2 separate regions of the Homo sapiens genome follow, and region 2 is linked to region 1. Evidence: promoter capture Hi-C in human tissues and cell types (Jung and others, 2019). All regions are on one chromosome and are shown on one strand. The core of a region is centred on a gene start or on the middle of the fragment in contact, and the rest is flanking DNA. Distances in the headings are between cores, read along the strand shown.

What was found. Contacts are between HindIII fragments. The study calls those that stand out against the background at their distance.
Region 2: a contact is called between a fragment that was not itself captured here and the fragment with the promoter of DNAJC27 in region 1, in 1 of the 25 tissues and cell types used here (mesenchymal stem cells).

Annotation. Positions count from the first base shown.
Region 1 is chr2:24,969,148-24,973,971 of GRCh38, forward strand. It overlaps DNAJC27 (DnaJ heat shock protein family (Hsp40) member C27), which reads right to left and starts at 2,808. Exons shown (of 7, transcript NM_016544.3): 1 at 2,671-2,808. The coding sequence starts at 2,757. DNAJC27-AS1 (DNAJC27 antisense RNA 1) reads left to right here and starts at 2,965. Exons shown (of 3, transcript NR_034113.1): 1 at 2,965-3,085. It also overlaps the pseudogene RPS13P5. RefSeq lists enhancers at 2,219-2,348, 2,302-2,820, 2,359-2,468, 2,729-2,838, 2,821-3,339 and 2 more and a silencer at 2,519-2,598. The HindIII fragment of the contact is 11,912 bases long and covers 1-4,824 here.
Region 2 is chr2:24,465,855-24,470,678 of GRCh38, forward strand. No RefSeq gene overlaps it. Among named protein-coding and RNA genes, the nearest start is that of NCOA1, 23 kb to the right of the region's middle. The HindIII fragment of the contact is 6,412 bases long and covers 1-4,824 here.

The DNA of each region.
Region 1 (4,824 bases), core at 1,558-4,057:
TCTTGGACTTAAGAATTCTTAAGATGCTATTGCCTGTCACAAAACGTACTTGAGCAACACCATGTGAGTCTCTCAAGAACCAAACTTGAAAAGGGAATCATGTTTTAACTTCCAATACCAAACACAAACTGGAGAACGTGATGATGTCAAGGCTCAGGTATCATGGCATAGTTTCCTATTTGTAAGATGGGGGTCTACTTTTATACATCACAGAAACCAACATGGGAATGCATGCAAAGCTCTCATAGACATCCAAGGAAGGTTTACCGAACACTAAGGAAAATCTTTCTGGTGGAAACTGTGAACGTTGAAAAACCATCATCACAGTGAAAAAAAATTTTTTTTTTCTTTTTAGAGTCTCACTCTGTCGCCTAGGCTGGAGTGCAGTGGCACAATCTGGGCTTACTGCAACCTCCACCTCCCAGGTTCAAGGCAATTCTCCTGCCTCAGCTTCCTGAGTAGCTGGGACTACAAGCGTGCGCCACCATGCCTGGCTAATTTTTTGTATTTTAGTAGAGATGGGGTTTCACCATGTTGCCCAGGCTGGTCTCGAACTCCTGAGCTCAGGCAATCCACCTGCCTCTGCCTCCCAAAGTGCTAGAATTACAGGCGTGAGCCACTGCGCCCGGCCTGAAAAATATTTTTAAATGGCTGATACAGTTGGTCTTCTTTCATTTCTTTTTTTTCCCCACAATTTTCTTTGTTGTTTTCACATTAATTTTTCATGAAGACTTTAGTAGTCTTGTATTATGTTCTGGGAAAAAAAAACCCTTATTGATGTTTTCACTGGAATTGAATTTCATTTGTAGGTTGAGTAATTCACATCTGTACAATATTGTGTAATCCCACGTAAGGAAAAAGTATATCTTTCCATTTGCCTAAGTAATTTATCTCCCTTTGTAGAGTTTGAAACTTGTCTTCATATAGGTGCTGCCTATTTCATGTTAAGTTTAAACCTAGGAACTTTATTTTTGTTGTAACTGTAAATTAAAATTGTTTTTCAATTACACATTCCAACTGAATATAATTTGGACACAATAAAGTTATTAATTTGTGGGTAATAATTTTGCTTTATTGAATTTTTATAATGTTTCTAATAGTTTTTCAGTTATTTCTCTTTGGGTTTCCAGGTAAACAATCGTATTATTAGCAAATAATGTTAATTTTACCTTCTCTTTTCTAATATTTTTATATTCTCTTACTCTTGTCTAATTGCACTGGCTAATAAAACTAGAAAAATGTTAAGTAGATGTGGTGACACTGGGCATTCTGAGCTGCTTCTAATGTTGTATCATTAGGCACAGTAAAATTACTTTTTTTTTTTTTTTTTTTTTTGAGACGGCGTCTCACTCTGCCGCCCAGGCTGGAGTGCAATGGCGTGATCTCGGCTCACTGCAGCCTCTGCCTCCCCGGCTTAAGCGATTCTCCCGCCTCGGCCTCCCAAGTAGCTGGGATTAAAGGCGTGCACCACCATGCCTGGCTAATTTTGCATTTTTAGTAGAGACAGGATTTCACTATGCTGGTCTTGAACTCCTGACCTCAAGTGATCCGCCCGCCTCGTCCTCCCAAAGTGCTGATGTATTACAGGCCTGAGCTAGCGTGCCCAGTCCCTAGAAAAAAAAAAACACCTCGTACACAGCTGACGTTCAAAAAAATGTTGACTTTCAGTGAATACTATGCTAGCACATACACACAAAAGTAGTACGGGATCATGCTACACAGAAATAAAAAACACTAAGTAAACATTTACTGAGCATCTCCTGGGTGCCAGGCACTGGACTAGGCACTGCCTTAACAGCTCTTTCGGAGTTGATTTTGAACGCATACAACGACGGAAAGAGCACCGCAGTGGGAATGTGAAGACTTAGGTTCTAATCTTTCCTCGGTCACTGATTTGATGACCTTGGGAAGTTCTTAACCAACAGATTCCACTTGCCCAAAAGGAAAGAATTTGAGTGAAGAGGAGGCCGTCTTGGAATTCATAAGGGAAAAGGCCTCAGGTTACCTCTGGCCTTCCCTCCCCACGTACTAAAGGAGAGTTTATAGCTGATGAACCACAGATGGGGCAGAGAGAAGGGCGGTGGAACTAACAGATATGGGGACACCACCAAAAATAAAACACAACGCAAAACAAAACAGCGCGGACCCCGGCCATCCCTTGCACCTCCCCTGTGAAACACGTCAACGTCAGTTACGCTCTCTCGTGACGGGAATGCAGAATCTGGGCTGCCGGGCACCATTTCGCGAACCCCAAATTCTCACACGCACCCCATAACGTTCCGCCGGCTCCCAGGCCCGGCTGGGGGAACTAAACTTTCATCCTCCATCTCCCGGTCCCGGACGGCCCCCTAGAACGCGGGCAAGGTATCTAGGCCGACGGCCCCTCATGGGGACCCAGGCCTTCTTACTCTTTTGGGGGTACATTCAAGGCTTAGAGGCCACCCCAGACACCATCTCCGGAAGAGTGACGTCGGAGGACGAGGGGGCAACGGAAAGGTCAAAAAGGTCGGGGAGTTTCGTTCGCGGAGCCGCACCCCTCGGCTGAGACCCGGGCCTGCTCGGGGGCGGAGAGGAGGCCGGGCCCCAGGCTGTTGAGTGGCCGCCCTTCCAGCCAATGGACACGTCGCCCCGCCACGCTGGGGCCCGCCCCTCCCGGCTCGCTGTACTCACTTTCCCCACTTCGGCGTTGCCCATGGAGATGACTTTGATGCGGAGAGACCTGCCGGGCTCCTTCCGCTTCGGCATGTTGGCCTCCATGGCCCTGGCTCTCTCGGGGCCACCCGCCTCGGTCTCTTCTTGTGCACCGCTGGCCCGTCCCTCAGGCCTCCTCGTCCAATGGCGGAGCCGCTGCTCTCGTCACCGCCTCGCCTCCGCTGCTCGCCATCCCCGCCGCTGCCTGGCAGCAGGCGCGGGCGGTTGGGAGCGTGGGGAGCCGGGGGAGGGAGACGGGAGTCTCGCGATGCTAGCGCGGGGCTGCTGACGTCATCTGCAGGCCCTGGAGACGCGACTGCAGTTACCGAGTTTCTAAGGCCTCGTCCCCTGACGGGAAGGCGGCGTTGGGGGGCGGCTGGGTTTACCCTTCGAGGTGAGCGCGTCCTTGTTTTCAGGGACGCCCGGACGGGAGGCGTTTGTTGCTTTCGCAGCCGAGTGGTGGAAATGTATTGGCTCTTCAGGGCGGGTCTGGTAGTGTCTCGTCCGTTTGGGAGTGTTTTTTTTTTTTTCTGGATTCTTTTTCGGTTCCATGGGCCGGGCTGCTGCTCCTCTTCCCCCTCCAATATTTTGTTCCCCTTGCTCGAGATCCCCGAGAGGCAGACCCCAAAGCCAGGAAAGTGGGGAGGTCGGAACCCTGGTTCTGGAAGAGGGCCTTGGGCAAGGCGTGAAGCGATTCTGAATCTGGTTCCTATTGTTTTTTATTTTAAATGGAGTTGTCTATTTGGAGTCAAGGCAAGAGTGTTTAGTCTTGGCCCTCCTATTACAGATCTCTGATGGATTTGTTGACTCCTCTGTGGGAGAAAGGCTTGGTCTACTGCAGGTGTTAACGCTAAGCCAGGCTGGAGCTGTGGACGTCAGTTTCCTCAGCTCCCCGCTGTTCGCTTCGAACGTGACCTCGACGTCTGCTCTCCCCTTCCCTTTAGCTGACAATGTGACAGTGCTTGAATAAAAGTCAGTCTGACAGGAACGGTAATTTTTTTTCAGTGAATATCTTCAGTTACAGAAGATAAATAGAACTTGACAATGATTATTTATAGTGCCCTGAAAAAAAATGGCTGCCAATTTCCCTGTATATTACAAAGACAAAAGTAGCATTGCTTCTTTTCTCACCTAACTTTAAACATCTTAAGGGAAGTGCATTACAGGAAGGCAATGAGCAAAGGCTCAACATTTCACAGTAAAGTCAGATTTTCCACATTTTAATTTTAAAATGTGTTTTTTAAACATTAAGTTTTTTTTAAGACAAGTTTATTCTGGATTGTTTTGATAATCAAATAATATAACTTAATTCACTGAAGCTTCTAAAATTATTTACAAATATGAAATATAAGTCCTGGTTAGAATTTGGATAGTTTTAAAGCTTAAAAGAATCCACATGCTAACTTCTCAGTATGATTTAATAAATCAAATTACTAAACATGTAATTTCTTCGACAGTTCACCTTTGGCCCTGTAATAGGGTAACTGGTATTGTGGAAGAATAATTATAAAATGTCAAATCTTCAGCTGTTATGATTGATTAAGTATGGTGCTGTTGAGACTAAGCAGTAAAACATGCCACAGATTTAAATTGATTACTATTTTTTTCATATTGATGGGGTTTTTTTTGTTTTTGTTTTTGTTTTTGAGACAGAGTTTCCCTCTTGTTGCCCAGGCTAGAGTGCAGTGGCACAATCTCTGCTCACTGCAACCCCTGTGTCCCGGGTTCAAGCAATTCACCTGCCTCAGCCACCCGAGTAGCTGGGATTACAGGCACCCACCGGTATACGCAGATAATTTTTGTATTTTTAGTAGAGACGGGGTTTCACCATATTGGCCAGGCTGGTCTCGAACTCCTGACCTCAGGTGACCCTCCTGCCTTTGCCTCCCAAAGTGTTGGGATTACAGGCATGAGCCACAGCGTCCGGCCCATATTGATGCTTTTGACACTTTATTGTATATAGCTACATTTTCTACTGTGTGTATTAAATTAGTTTGGAATCGAAAGAGCAAGAAAGTTGTTTTTTTTCCCCCACTCTTTGAATATAAAAAAATAAAAATCAGCACGAGTTAGCTGCTTTTTCCATAGTATGGACCTGGGAGGTATAGTGTGAGCATGGATTCTGGAGCCAGC
Region 2 (4,824 bases), core at 1,166-3,665, 500 kb before region 1:
GCCTGTGATCCTAGCACTTTGGGAGGCCAAGATAGGTGGATCACTTAAGGTCAGGAGTTCGAGACCAGCCTGGCCAACATGGTGAAACCCCATCTCTACTAAAAATACAAAAATTAGCTGGGCACGGTGGCATGCACCTGTAATCCCCCCTACGCAGGAGGCTGAGGCAGAAGAATCGCTTGAACCCAGGAAGCCAAGGTTGCAGTGAGCTGAGATTGTGCCACTGCACTCCAGCCTGGATGACAGAGTGAGACTCCCTCTCAAAAAAAAAAAAAAGTTAGTCGGGTATGCTGTTGTGTACCTACAATTTCAGCTACTAGGGAGGCTGAGATGAGAGGATTACCTGAGCCTGGGAGGTCGAGGCTGCAATGACTATGAGCAAGCCACTGCACTCCAGCCTGAGTGACAGAGCAAGACTCTGTCTCAAAAAAGAAAAAAGTAAAACTGGACATATGCAGAAAATAAAATAATCTCAATAGAGAGGCCAGGGAGAGGGAAATGTTTTTCTAACTTTTTTGTTGTGAACCACAGTAAGAAATACATTTTACATCTTCACTCAGTACACATTGTGTGTGTGTGTGTGTGTGTGTGTGTGTGTGTGTGTGTAATTAAAACAACCAAAACATCTTTTTTAAAATAACAGTACATACTATTCTTTTTAAAAAATGCTGGTCATGACCATCCAAATTGATTTCATGACCTACAGTTTGAAAAACATTGCCCTGAGGTGATAGGTGATAGTGTCAGAATCTTGGGAGAGGGTAAGATTTTTAAGTTTATCAAAAAAGAAGCATTTTTCAAACAGTTGACCATGTCCTTAAGAGTGCAGACTTACTTTTCTTTTTATTTTCTTTAGGGCCTCTGCTATATTTCTTTCTTTTATTCCTGCTTACATGGACAATTGAGTGAGATTGCAAAACCAGGTTACTACAGCATGTGGAAATCTTAGATGATATACTACATGAAGTTGGTAAGTCGCAGGTACATGGTTCCATTGTTTTAACTTAAATTAATCTAACAACCTATTAAAAGCTTGTTTAATAAATAGTTTATCATGTGGTTTTTAGTTCTATCAGGTCAATTTTACCCCCCATTCTAAATGCAGGTCCAGTTCTTAGCTCACCTGGCTCACAGGGAAGCAAAGTCCTATTTTCCCTACATACTTGAGACTTCATCCTCCCATACAGGATCGGTCACATTCCACTCAGTCTCTTGAAATCCCAAGCAGTGATATTCTCTCGTCACCTCCACCCACCCGTGCATCAACATACCTTGCAACTGGCTTCTCTTGCTGGCCTTCTACTTAAACTGCTTTTAAAGTAAAGCCCTTTCTAAGAGTGACTTTCTAATCTTTTCTCCTAGATCCTGATCTCACAGCTCCTATATTCTGCTTCTTCCTACAGATCCATTTCCTGTCTATTGGCAGCTTCGTCTGCATTATCATTGTTTCTTGTCTCTTGAACTTTGGTTGGCAACTTGCAATCCTTTTGACTTCAGCCACCACTGCTTTGTTTTTTCCTCAGTCCTAAGTCCTGAGAGAGGGAAAGCAACTTGCTTAGCTCACATTTCGCACCAGATGGCCCCAGGCCGGGGGCCCCCTCTTTCTTCAGTCATTCATTTTTTGGTTACTTTTGGAGGGAGATGTGGTGTGGCATCTCCAGGGAACTTACTCAAGAAGAGGTAGTTGGGAGAGAAGGTAGAAAATGGGTTATCTCTAGCTGAACTTCAGGTTCAACGTCATCTTTATTTTGATCTACAGAGTCCTAGTAGATGACAATACAGGTCTATACACAAGTGATAAATTGTGCAATCAACCAATTCATCCATTTCACAAATGGGAGTGATTGTTTGCTTTATGAAGTGAACTCTTACTTTATATGAGGAACCATCATGGGATTCCTTCAAACAGCAAATTCTCTTTTCATATATACAAAATGATTTATTTTACAAAGGGTGATTACCTGTGGCTTTCTCTCAGGAAAAGGAAGTGAGGTGTCTTCCATCACAATCATATGCCTTACAGTTTTGATACAATACTCAGTCCAGTTCATTGATTTCCATTCTTAAGTACATAAAAATCTTTTTTCTCCCTGGTTTATTTATAGTTGCATCCCATGGACAAATATCCTTTACTCAACATCTCCTTTTACTTTCTTACATTTATCTTGGCTTTCTTTTCCTTTTTACTGTTTACTCCTACACCATTTCCCCTTCCCATTTTAGTCAAATTTGCTTTTGCTCTTTTTGTGCACTTCATAGGTGGACATCCAAGGACATTGATGAATGAAGCTCCAGTCAAGGGTCTGTAGTGTTAAGGCAGCCACATCCAGGCTCTCATAGCACAGAAATACCAGTAACGCTATTGCTCAGGTGTGCTGCGTATGCTTATTCTACTATGCAAGTGATTATATGCCTCAGTTCCACAGTTGACCTTATATCCCAAATCAGCTCAATAAATTAGAATACTTGGCCCCTTTTTTTTAACTTTTATTTTAGGTTCAGGGGACATGTGCAGGTTTGTTATATAGGTAAACTTGTGTTATGGGGGTTTGTTAAATAGATTATTTTGTCACCCAGGTACTAAGCCTAGTACACAATAGTTATTTTTTCTGATCCTCTCTCTTCCCACCCTCCACCCTCAAGTAGGCACAAGTGTCTGTTGTTTCCCTCTTTATGTCCATGTGTTCTCATCATTTAGCTCCCACTTCTGAGTAAGAACATCTGCTATTTGGTTTCCTGTTCCTGCATTAGTTTGCTAAGGACAATGGCTTCCAGCTCCATCCATGTTCCCACAAAGGACATGATCTTGTTCTTTTTTATGGCTGCATAGTATTCCATGGGACGTTCATACACTGTTAGTGAGAGTGTAGCTCAACTGTTGTGGAAAGCAGTGTGGCAATTCCTCAAAGAGCTAAAAGCAGAACTACCATTCAACCCAGCAATCCCATTACTGGGTATATACCCAAAGGAATACAAATTATTCTACCATAAAGACACATGCATGTGTATGTTCATTACAGCACTATTCACAATAGCAAAGACATGGAATCAACCTAAATGCCCATCAATGACAGATTAGACTTGGCCTCTTATGGAAACATATTTTGTTGTTGTTGTTGTTGTTGTATATAATGGCCCTGACTCATTAACTCCTTAAGTCATTCCCCACGTTAGCTAGTTTTCTGTTATCTTCACTTTGATGTTAAGCCAACATCTTAGCATATTTAAAATTGAATTTCTCATACTCTTAGTCACATTATATTCCCTTTCCAGCTTCCTTACTGATGATGATGATGATGAACATTACTGCCTTTCACTTGTCCAGCACATTGCAGCTTTCCTGCACATCATCTTATTTGTGCCTTACAAAACCACTATGTGGTGAGCAGAGACACTTTACAAATGAGAAGAGTGGGCTAAGAGGGGTTAAGTCACTTGTTCAAAGTGGTAGGGACAGGTCTTCTCACTCTCGGTCCTATGCCTTAAGCTCAGAGGCACTACCCTGCTTCTCAAGCTAATAACCTCATCATTCTTTCTGTTCCTTTTTCTCTTGCACGTCCCATGTCTAACTCATCAAAAACTTATCCTAATTTTTTCTTCTACAATGTCTCATACTTGCCATTATCAAAGCAGTTAAACAACTGCCTTCTTGGTTCAGGCCCTCATCTGCTCATTTGTGAGTCACTGCAAGCATCTCCTGTTTTCCACATTTCTGTTCTTTTCTGCTCTAATTCATCCAAAAGGCATTGGTTAGAATATTGTTTATTTTGCATATTTTCTCTCTTTCATATCTTCTTCCCTTTTTTTGGAATGAAGGGTCCACATAGCAGTTGTTGGGACAGCTAGTAATTACCTTAGTAATTCCCATGCCCCACTTGAATAGCAAATATCTGTGGATAATTGGAAAAATAATGTGTGAAGATGCTGCTCTCATGGTATCACTCCCTTGTGGCCCATATCAGTTTTCTATTTCCTGTTCTGGAAAATGCAATCCCTGCAGGCCCTATATCCAAGACTGTCTATTAACTGAATTTGCAGACCCTGCCCTAAGTACCAAGGTGATGTAGTATTTATGCCATCTGTCTCAAATTCAAGGGTGCTTGTAGCCAGGGGACTACCTTCAGGGGAATAAGTGATGTATAGCTATAAATTTTGGTGATGCCAGAAGTAGCCCAAATAATATGAAAAGAAGCAACATGTACTGTGTACCTTTTTGATGCCACCAACAACTCTGGTATTTTACCTACTTTATCTAATTGAATGCCAACATCAACCCTGCAAAGCAGAAAAGCACAGGGGTGGGGTGCAGGGAATCCCAGCTAGGCCGACAAACCTAGGTTCAGCCCAGAGTTCTGACAGATCTATAAATGTCTGGAAGTCTGTTGGGAGGGAATCTATTTGCTTCAAGAATCAAGGAAGTCCAGAGAAAGAGCTCATTCTAAGGACAATGGGGCAAATTTGGGTGAAAGTGGGAGGGATGTCATGAATATTGTAAGCTGCTTGTCGCTAACATTATATGCTGTCTCTGCTCTGGGGATTTCTGCCTTAGTCTAGTGAGATTGAATAAAAGAATAGAAGCAAACAAACAAAGCCACTGCAATTGAAAGCTATTAAGGCAAGATAGTATGACCTGGAGCACCCTTGCTGGGCAGCGTACGTGGCAGAGCCATGGGGCTCTGGAAGGAACCGAGAGCACGTAGTGATCTGGGAGCATGAAGGCATTGGGAACCTGTAGCCTCAGCCCAAGCCTTGACCATCTGGCCACTCCAGGGTGCCAGAGGCAGAAAACAGGGAAATGGAGACGCTATTGGCTGCTTGGACAAA